Linked DNA regions of Homo sapiens: all the other regions are linked to region 2. Evidence: promoter capture Hi-C in human tissues and cell types (Jung and others, 2019). All regions are on one chromosome and are shown on one strand. Each heading gives the region's core, a stretch centred on a gene start or on the middle of the fragment in contact. The rest is flanking DNA. Distances are from core to core; before and after follow the strand shown.

What was found. Contacts are between HindIII fragments. The study calls those that stand out against the background at their distance.
Region 1: a contact is called between a fragment that was not itself captured here and the fragment with the promoter of RAF1 in region 2, in 1 of the 25 tissues and cell types used here (spleen).
Region 3: a contact is called between a fragment that was not itself captured here and the fragment with the promoter of RAF1 in region 2, in 1 of the 25 tissues and cell types used here (bladder).

Annotation. Positions count from the first base shown.
Region 1 is chr3:12,991,779-12,995,057 of GRCh38, reverse strand. All of the region lies in intron 1 of IQSEC1 (IQ motif and Sec7 domain ArfGEF 1), which reads left to right. Among named protein-coding and RNA genes, the nearest start is that of IQSEC1, 80 kb to the left of the region's middle. RefSeq lists silencers at 1-78, 729-778, 799-958, 2,835-3,129 and enhancers at 1-317, 369-438, 877-1,435, 2,835-3,129. The HindIII fragment of the contact is 4,757 bases long and covers 1-3,279 here.
Region 2 is chr3:12,662,098-12,665,648 of GRCh38, reverse strand. RAF1 (Raf-1 proto-oncogene, serine/threonine kinase) reads left to right here and starts at 1,532. Exons shown (of 17, transcript NM_002880.4): 1 at 1,532-1,836. RefSeq lists enhancers at 1,157-1,226, 1,267-1,616, 1,228-1,839, 1,840-2,450 and a silencer at 1,807-2,026. The HindIII fragment of the contact is 15,309 bases long and covers 1-3,551 here.
Region 3 is chr3:12,178,457-12,181,791 of GRCh38, reverse strand. All of the region lies in intron 10 of SYN2 (synapsin II), which reads right to left. Among named protein-coding and RNA genes, the nearest start is that of TIMP4, 21 kb to the right of the region's middle. RefSeq lists an enhancer at 2,442-3,335. The HindIII fragment of the contact is 3,004 bases long and covers 1-2,833 here.

The sequences.
Region 1 (3,279 bases), core at 54-2,553, 330 kb before region 2:
GCTCCCGGCCCGGCGTTCAGGGCTTCCGGGGCAGGTCTGCTCTGCGACCCACCAGGGAGGGCACTCGCGCGTCCTCGCTTTCTCCTTAGGTGCACCCCCGCGGGCGCGCTCCCGCCCATATCCCTTCCAGGCCCAGCCTCTGCTATCTGCGCCACTTCTTCCCCGTCTTTGGGCTCCCTTCCGATTGTGCCCACCCCATTCTCTGTAACAGTCGCCAGGCCACCAGGGCCCGTCCCAGCATCTAAATCGAGGTCGGCTGAGGGATGGGGGCGGCACCGGCAGGCCCAGGTCCCCACCCCGTCCCCAAACAGTCAGGAGGGTGTGTCCTGGAGGGGACGCGGAGGAGCGTGGTGCAGCTGTGCGCCTCTGGGCCAGTGGCTTCCCTGCTGTGGGCCTCAGTGTTCCCATCTGCGAACTGGGGACGGCGGCGGGGGTGGGGCGTTTCGGCCGGGGCTGCAGCTTTCCCTCGGAGGAGCCGGGGGACTTGGCCTGAGGTGCGTTTGTTCGCTGTTTATTGGGGGTCTGGGGTAGTCTGAGGGAAATGCCGGGGGTCGCAGTGCCCCCGGTTCCGCGCCTGGACCCCGCGTACCCCGCTCTCCTGACCCATCCGCTGCAGCGGCTGCACCGACCTGAGCGCCCTCCACTCGTCCAGGCTCGGGTGACGTCGGCGGCCGGGGCGGCACCGTCCTCCCCGCCCCCTAGCACAGCCGCGCACGCACACACACCTTCCGAGGGGGGAAACTGAGGCCAGGCGCGGCGAGGCCACCCGCCAAGGTCACGGCGCACGGGCGGTGGGGCGGGCAGGAGGGCGGCGCGCGGGGAGGCCGCCCCGCCGGTGGCGCTGGTATCGGGCTCGGGCTCCGGCTCCGGCTCCCGAGCGCCCGCCCCCGCCCCCCCGCGCCCGGCCACCGGACGCTCTGGGGCCGCGCCGGCCGCGGGGACGGCGCGCTCTCGGCGGCTGCGGGCGGACCCGCGAGGTAGGAGGCGGGCCGGCGGGGGACGCGCCCGGCGACCGGTGCGGTGCGGGGCCCCGGGCGGGGGTCGCTGGGGCTGCAGCCGGGAATGCCCTCCGCGGGGCGGCCTGGGCGGCAGCTCCGCCCCCGGGGCCGCGGTTGCACCGACACGCAGTTGGCTCTCGGGAACCTGGGGCGCGCGGGGATCGCGGCGGGCTTCGCGGAGCGGGTCTCGGAAGGAGGTTGCGAGGCCGCAGTTGCTAAGCCCGCACCGGCCGCAGGGTTGTGGGGTTGGGGATCAGCGGCCGCCAAGCTCACGGGAATGGGGGCCGGGGCGCGCCAGCGCCAGTCTTTCTGAGCTGGGCTCTGCGGTGTCGCTCTCTGGGACTGGAGCGGTGAGGACGCAGAAGCCCCAACCTCCGCGGCTATGCAGACGGCTTATCCCGAAGCCTTGCGAACGCTAAAGGCGCGATATTGGGGGTCGGGGAGGGGCGGGGTGCTCCATCTCTTCATCAGTGCAGTTGGTTGCCTCCCCGAAGCGGGGGTACGTGAATCCAGACCCCGAGGGTCGCCATGCAAAGCATTCCCCACCCCCCGACTCCGCACTACCCTGCTTCTCTTCCCCACCCCCACCCCGCCTCCACCACCGCTGCTGCCTCCGGGCGGAGAAATCCCGCCACCGCGTCCAGGGTCCCGAGCCTGCGAGCGGGAGGTTGAGGCATCTCAGGAATTCGCTGGGAGCCACACGGACGCGCCTTGGGAGGGAGGGAGAAGCTTTGGCAGGGCTGGAGGGCTGGGTCCAACCTGGCCCTGTCCCTGCCTCCCAACCCCGTGTGACCTTGGGCAGCCCCTCCTGCCATTACCACGTGGGGAAGAGACTGGTTCTCAGTCTTGGGGTGGAGGGAGCTCTCCCGGTAGACCTCCAGGAGAGTTGGCTTAGGGAGCAGTCTTGGGGACCAGAACAGCCTTGGCGACCTCTGGACCCTGACCCATAGGGGGCAGGTGGCAGCAGGGGGATGAGGTGTAATGGGGGCTGTTGTTGGAAACCTGTCCCACCTGCCAGCCTGAGGATGAGACACTCCTGGGCCAGGGTCTTAGAGTGTGGGACCCCCGCCCCCACCGCAACCTCCCGCTACAAAACCACCTGCCCTTGGGCTCTAAGCAGGCAGGGTGGGTTGGCAGAGGTGAGTCAAGCTTCTCCCCACCCCTAATAGTCCTGGGGAACTTCCCCTCCCATGTTTCTGCCAGGCAGTTGTCACTTTAAATTGCCAAGCTCTCAACTGTCACAGCTGATCTGTTCCTGGAGCAAAGGGAGCAGAAAGGTGACAGTGGGTGTCCCCTCCCCCTGGCCTTGTCCAGGAGATGAGGCTCACAAGGACAGCAGTCGGCTCTGCCTGGTCAGCTTTGTGAGTGTTGCTCTGAGCATGCCCAGTGATCTGTGGTGGTGAGGGACCTGTCCTAGACTGGGAGCAGGGGTCTGGTTGTGCACTTTGATGAGCCACCGTTTCATTTTGTGGTCAGGCTCCACCAGGCAGTGGACACATTGGCCTGTGCAGCCCCCTCTGAACAATTCTGAATTAAGGTGACACAGGAATAGCTTTCTCGTCACCCTCCCCTGCCCCCAGTATGATGCCCACCTCCTCATTACAGTTGGCAAGATGGCCAGGCTGCTGAAGCCATGTGCAATTAGAGCCCAGAAACCAGATTTAAGGGGAAAGAAGAGAAATTGCCTTAGCGGTGCCATCTCCTCCCACCCCCCACCCCCCACAGGAAAAGATAAACTGAGAGGTGACTTGGGGTGGCCACAATGCCCACAGCCCAGCCATTAAGCATCAGTGCCGGAGGGAGCATCCCGGAGCCACCCTACTGTGTTAGAGATGGAGAACTGAGGCCAGAGAGAGGCAGGGACATGTCCAAGGTCACACAGCGTATTCAGAGCCGAGGGGCCCTGTCCCCAGCTCTCCAGCAACCCAGTCATCCTGAGAGGGCTGCTTCCTGGGGAATGCTCGGAGGACTCGGTGTCCCCTCAGAGGTCTCTGCAGTGGAGGGACAAGGGAGGGGGCCTGTGCTCACCTCTGCAGGGGACTGTCTCCTGCACGGTTTGCAAACATTAGGTAATCTTGGGTCTCATGACTGGAGTTGCCACTCTCTTTCAAGGCTGCTTAAAGGGCCCATGGCAGCCCGCCCTTCCAGCCGCTGCTCTGACCAACCTGCCCTGCCCTGCCTGTCCCATGCCTGCTGTCCCCACACCACCACCCTTGGTTTTAGTCATGCTCCCTTCCCCCATTGTCCAGAGGGGAGTGCTGAGGCCACACCAGAAGAACTG
Region 2 (3,551 bases), core at 283-2,782:
GTGAGCCACCGCACCCGGCCTATTTGTTTTGTATTTTTTAGCAGAGACAGGTTTCACCATGTTGGCCAGGCTGGTCTCAAACTCATGACCTCAAGTGATCTGCCCGCCTCGGCCTCCCAAAGTGCTGGGATTACAGGCGTGAGCCACCACGCCCAGCCATGTCTTTTTTTTTTTTTTTTTTGAGACAAGAGTTTCGCTCTTGTTGCCCAGGCTGGAGTGCAATGACGCGATTTCGGCTCACCGCAATCTCCGCCTCCTGGGTACAAGCAATTCTCCTGCCTTAGCCTCCCGAGTAGATGGGATGACAGGCATGCACCACCATGCCCAGCTAATTTGGTATTTTTATTTTTTTATATTTATTTATTTTTTCGAGACGGAGTCTCGCTCTGTCGCCCAGGCTGGAGTGTAATGGTGCGATCTGGGCTCACTGCAACCTCTGCCTCCCGGGTTCAAGCGATTCTCCTGTCTCAGCCTCCTGAGTAGCTGGGATTACAGGCGCCCGCCACCACGCCCGGCTAATTTTTGTATTTTTAGTAGAGACGGGGTTTCTCCATGTTGGTCAGGCTGGTCTCGAACTCCCGACCTCAGGTGATCCGCCTGCCTCGGCCTTCCAAAGTGCTGGGATTACAGGAGTAATCCCAAAAAAAGCGCCGGGCCCTTTTTTTGTTGTTTTTTAAATTCAGTAACTATCTAGTTCATTCTTGGATGGATGACAACCCAGATTGGATGTGTAGCAGCGTTCTCTTAACCAGTTTCCTATTAATCTTCATTTCATCCCCAGTGTTTCTCCAGAATGCAAATAATATGGCATTAAATATCTTCACACATAGCTTTTTGTGTATGTGTATACTTATTTCTCTAGAATTAGTGTCTAGAAGTGAAACTGCCGGGAGGAAGGATATATACTTTTAACATGTCCAAGTTCCACTGTGATAGCGCTGCGAGGGCACACAACAGGTTTCAATATACCTTGGACCAAACCGGATATTATCAGTTTTTTTAACTTGTTGCTAATGTGATGGGGGAAAAATGAACTCGGAATTTACACACAAGGAAAAGACCGTTTAAGGTTCAGGGACTGTCCACATAGCTGTCAAGTGGCGGAGCCGTGATTTGGTATTAAAGTGCCCGGAGAGGACGCGTCAAAGTTGGACACTGTGCCCTGTGTCCTGAGGCACGTCTGGTGATCGCTGGGCCTTGCAATGCTGGGCAGGCAGGCCTTCCTCTCCCCTTCTAGGCCTCTGGCCACTCCTGGCTGGCCGAAAGCCGGTTCTTCTCGATTACCGAGTGCCTCTCCTGAAAGCAAGTCAGCGTCGCCTAACCTCTTCAGCTTCGAAATGGCGGCCACCAGATCGCTAGGCCACGCCCCGGGGGCGGGGCCTGAGTTCAGGCCAGAGCGATGGATGCCCGAGCCAAGTTAGAAGTCGACTGCCAGTAGGGCTCGCGCAGAATCGGAGAGCCGGTGGCGTCGCAGGTCGGGAGGACGAGCACCGAGTCGAGGGCTCGCTCGTCTGGGCCGCCCGAGAGTCTTAATCGCGGGCGCTTGGGCCGCCATCTTAGATGGCGGGAGTAAGAGGAAAACGATTGTGAGGCGGGAACGGCTTTCTGCTGCCTTTTTTGGGCCCCGAAAAGGGTCAGCTGGCCGGGCTTTGGGGCGCGTGCCCTGAGGCGCGGAGCGCGTTTGCTACGATGCGGGGGCTGCTCGGGGCTCCGTCCCCTGGGCTGGGGACGCGCCGAATGTGACCGCCTCCCGCTCCCTCACCCGCCGCGGGGAGGAGGAGCGGGCGAGAAGCTGCCGCCGAACGACAGGACGTTGGGGCGGCCTGGCTCCCTCAGGTAGGTGGCAGGACCGGGTCGTGGATGCCGGGGGAGCCGGGCGGCGGGGCTGAGGGATCGGCTTCCAGGGCGACCGGGCCTGGGTGGCGCTGATGGAGCGGCCCCGCGGCTGCCGGGCAGAGGGCTTGGGCCAGGCCGTTGTCACCCTGGGGTAGCGTTGGGCGGGGGCCCCGGAGTCCGGTGTCATGGCCGGCGAGCCGAGTTCCCACATCCCACTCAAATTTCCTTGTGTTTGGCGGAAACGTGCCAACGCCACCCTTATGCCATGCGCATTCCTCATATTTGGCAGTGGGAAAATCCGCCCAGAGCTGCCCCATATCTGTTGTCACTTGGATGGGCCAATTCCTTTTCTCTTGGGCCGCCGAATGTGGGACCCGGGCTTGCACCCTTTCTCAGGGTACTTCAGTCAAGTGACACCCTTTTAGAGACGACGTGAGGAATCGGGTAAGAGAGGAGGAAACTGGCCAGTGCCCTACCACAAAGGCACAGGGGCCTCTTCTTGGGTATCAGGACTAGCCTTGGGTATCAGGACTCTGGGTTATTAATGAAAGGTTTGGGATACTTATAGAGGATTGGCCTCAGGACGCTTTGGAATGAAGAGCCAGGGCTGTCTTTTGTGTGACGCGAGAGCCGCCGGGACGCTTCAGCTCTGCAGCTGCTGAGGCTCTGCGAGCGAGTCGATGCCCAAGAGAGAGGGGTTTGGACGTCGTGAGAGGCGAGGCGGCCGTGTTCATTCATTGTTCTCGTTCTAGGGCTCTGGGTGTGCCCCTGGTATTCATTCTGTGGTGGGAAGAAGGAATGGAACTTAGTGTATCCTTGAGATGTGAACGGGTTCTAGGGGGTCACTTAATCTAAGTGGAAAATGAATTCAAGGCACGTTCATTGAGCGTTTCTGCTTGCCTGGTCCTCTGTGGGCTGAGTGGAGAGACTCTGCCCTCCCTGCGCTCCTAAGGCGTGAAAACAATGCAGTGTGATAAGAATTGGCTTATCAAGTGTTATGGGGATTTAGAACAGTTAGTTTTGCTTGGGGAGGAGTTGAGGAAGCTTCTACACTCGAGGAGACTTCTGAGTCGAGTTTTGAAACACCTGTGAGTAAGTGCTCATCGGGTGAGGAGGAGCTCAGGGAACAGCTGGTACAAAGGCTTAGAGCCATGTGGGAGTTGGGATGAGTTTGGGGAGCAGCAAATTGCCTGGGGTGCAGGAAGGAAATGGTGAGAGATGAGAGTAAAATAAAAGTTGCTAGAATTGTGAGGGGGCTGTCTTTGTTGTAGATAGTGAACTAGTTGAATTTGGATTATTGTACATGGGTTGCCGAGTCTTCATTCTTGCTGATAATTTTCTCCCTTTGTTGATGTTGAAGCTGATAGTGATTGAACATATTTAGTTTAACTTAGTTAATGACTTTTAAATTTTTTTTTATTTTTTCAGAACAATGCAAACTTTTTTTTTTTTTTTTTTTTTTTTTTTTTTTTTTAAAGGAACAGGATCTCACTCTGTCGCCCAGGCTAGAGTGCAGTGGCATGATCATAGCTCGGTTGCAGCCTCTAACTCCTGGGCTTAAGCAGTTCTCCTGCCTTTGCCTCCTGAGTAGCTGGGACTACAGACAGGTGCCACCACACATGGCTAATTAAAAAAAAAATAGTAGAGATGGAGTCTGGCAGTGTTGCCTAGGCTGGTCTCAAACTCCTGGGCTCAGGCGATCCTCCTGCTTCCAC
Region 3 (3,335 bases), core at 82-2,581, 480 kb after region 2:
TTCCCTGGACTAACTTTGGTCAGGCCTTTATCATTTCTTGCTAGAATAGTCTCCTAATTCTTTCATCTTTTTCTTTCCAATCTATCTTCTCTGGGGCTACCTATTAACCTCCTAAACCTTTTTTCTAGTTGTGTCTCTTAACTTCTCTAAATCACCTAGAGCTGACATTTATGGCGTGCTTACTGTGTTCCAAGTAACATGGATGCACTATTGTGCACTATCTCCCTGTACCTCACAGTACCGTATGAGGTATCATCAGCACTCCTGGTTGCTTCAGCATGGCTGGGCTTGCCCTTTCTAGCCTTCTCCCTCCTTTATGTCATAAACAGCTGCTCAGTCCAGGCCTGATCCTCTACTGTTCATTCTCTAGTCTGGCCCATGCCTTCAACACCACAGCCTCTCATGGTCAGAGACAGATACTTAGGTGAAGGACAGAAAAAGTCCCAGTTTGTGAAGCTACCGGACTGGCTCTCGCTGGTCTCTCCCCCAGGGCCTCATGCCCAGTACCACTGAAGGGTCCCAATGCATCATCTCAAATGTTGGCCAAGAGCAGCTTACGATGTTCTCCTCCCAGAGAATTGGTATTCCCAGAGAGGGTTACAGAAGACTATGTGGCATAAGAGCAGAACCAGGGCCAGTGGGCACAAAAGCTCTGGGCAGACTTTCACCTACAAGTAGAACTTTCTTTTGTAAAAATAGTGAGATAGGCTGTTTTGGGAGGTAGACGTATGTGTTCACATAGTGGGTAGTGAATGACCTGACAAAGACATCATAGATAATATTCCTTTTTTAAACATGAGATTGACTGGATGAATGCTAAGGTTCCTTCCAATCCAGTGAAACTATGATTCCAAGAAAACGTTTTAAATCCCATAGATTAAGCTTTAATGGTAGAACTCCAGACACAGGATGAGCTCACAGGGGTGATCACACCATGTAGGCTGGCCTTGTCTTTCCTCAGCCATAGGAATATACATGTAAGACACCCACGGATGAACTAAGCCCAGAAGTGCCCTTTTCCAGGCTTGAGAGGAAGAGCTCCCGGAGGCAGTCCTTTGGGCTGCAGCCTGGGAATATGCTTTGGCCACCCTTGATGGCGCCTAGGAAGCTTCTCTTGGCCCCGGCTCCACTGAGATTGTGTATGGAAGACTTCTCAGGGGCTACGGGAGGCGGGGAGGAGAATTCCCAAGGACTGTCCCTTGCCAGGCTGAGACACCCTGGCTCCACCTACAAGCCTGCTGTCTACTAGGGGCTCCGGGCCTATTCCCTGTGGGGCTTGGCTACCATGGGATCTGTTTCCAGTCACCCAGAGCATCCTGGGATGCCGAATTCCACAGAAGTCTGGCCACTCTGGCGTCACTGCCAAAGGCTGGCCTGGAGCCAGCCCACAGCAGGAACTCATGGCCAGACTGAGAGGCAGAGCTTTCCTCAGGAAGTTGGATTGATTCAAACAGGTAAGAATGTGAAGTGCAGTGCTTGTGCCTAGCTGTACACAAAACGGAAGGGGAATAAATGACCTTATAGTAGCATAAAAAAAAAAAAACCCAGCTGGGTGCGGCTCACGCCTGTAATCCCAACACTGTGGGAGGCCGAGGTGCGTGGATCACTTGAGCCCAGGAGTTTGAGACCAGCCTGGATAACATGATGAAACGCTGTCTCTACAAAAAATACAAAAATTAGGTGGGCATGGTGGCATGTGCTTATAGTCCCAGCTACCCAGAGGGCTGTGGCAAGAGGATAGCTTGAGCCTGGGAGGTGGATGCTGCAGTGAGCCAGGATCACGCCACTGCATTCCAGCCTAGGCAACAGAGTGAGACCCCGTCTCAAAAAAATATATAAATAAATAATAAACCCCAACCAACTTTGGGTTTACAGAGTGACGACAGGCTCAAAGGGTGTCAGTCTGTAATGATGCTGCCAAAAATTGGATGCAGCTGGAGGTATGTCTATGTCTTGACAAGGGGAAGTGATAGGACCACTGTTCTTTTGGCTGATCAAGCCTCATGAGAGAGCACTGCAACCAGTTCTGGCCACCTCTTAAGGGTGATGCTAGCAGAAAAACATGGGTACATGGAGCAAATAGGATGGTTAGAAGTCTCGAAATGACAACTTTACACATGTGACTTTGGGCAAGTTACTTATCCTGAGTCACAGTTTCCCAAATGGTATAAATGAGGTAACCATGGAAGCACCTAGGGCTTAGTAGAAGATTGAAATTAGTCAAATATAAATCTGAATAGTGTCAAGGGCTGGCTTGGGTAGTAGTGAGCTTCCTGGCATGAGAGGTATTTCAGCAGTGCTTGGACAAACTTTGGTTAGGGGGGCTCATGTAGCTGCAGGCACATGACTTCTACAGGCCCTTCTGGCTCTAGGCTTCCATGAATTCGTTTATGCTTTTTTTTTTTTTTTTTTTTTTTCTTTCAGTTCTTCCGGTGTGTGAGAACTGAGACAATCCCTTCTTAGCTACAGAGTTCCAGACCAGCCTGGACCAGCTACAGAGTCTTAAACTCAGCAAGACCCCTAGGGTTATTGGACCTGTGCAGAGATGTCTTGCAGGTATAGGCTTTCAGGAGCTTGGCAAGGAGAGTGTGCCGCTTCCATCAAAGCTAATTGGGCTGGTATCCTGCTACGCTGAATCTACTGGGCTTAGTGATCAGAGAAGCCAGGGAGGAAGGAGAGAGCTGGTGAAGCTCAAGACTCCTCCAGGTTGGTAGGTCCACCACTTGTTAAGGGAGGAATGCAAGGATTTTCCTTACGTAGAGATATAGAGTCACAAATGCCCAGCTCATTCCATTCTTACCTTCGCCTCTGCTGATGTGGGAGCACCAAAAGGGCATGGTGCACAGTATTGTGGAGAACTCCCTGAATTGGGGCCCAGAAGATCCAGCTCTCCTGCTTAGCAGCTGTGTGACCTTGGGCAAGGCAGTTGCCTTCTCTTTGCTGATATGTGAAACAAAGATACATTTGCCAGCCCAAGACATCTTAAATAAGGATTGTTAGGCTTAAACTAAAGAGTGTGCTTTGTAAACTGTAAAGTGTTAGGCAATGTAAGTGAGCATCCTACTACTATTTAAAAAATAAATATCAATCCAAAGGAAGGGAGGTCTAATGTTAGAATTTCGTGCATCAGTGGAGAAGATATTGTTGTGTGGTTTCCTGTCACCTGATGCATAGCAGTTTCATGTGCAGGGAATTCTGGTCTGGGTTATACCATGCCTTCTGTATATTGCTTAGTTCCAGCAAGGTCCTTGCAGAAATGGTAAATATTAGCTCTTGAGATGATTGGAAAGGAAATCACTGGCCTGTGACAGAAACCAAGCCCATGGATGAGGGTT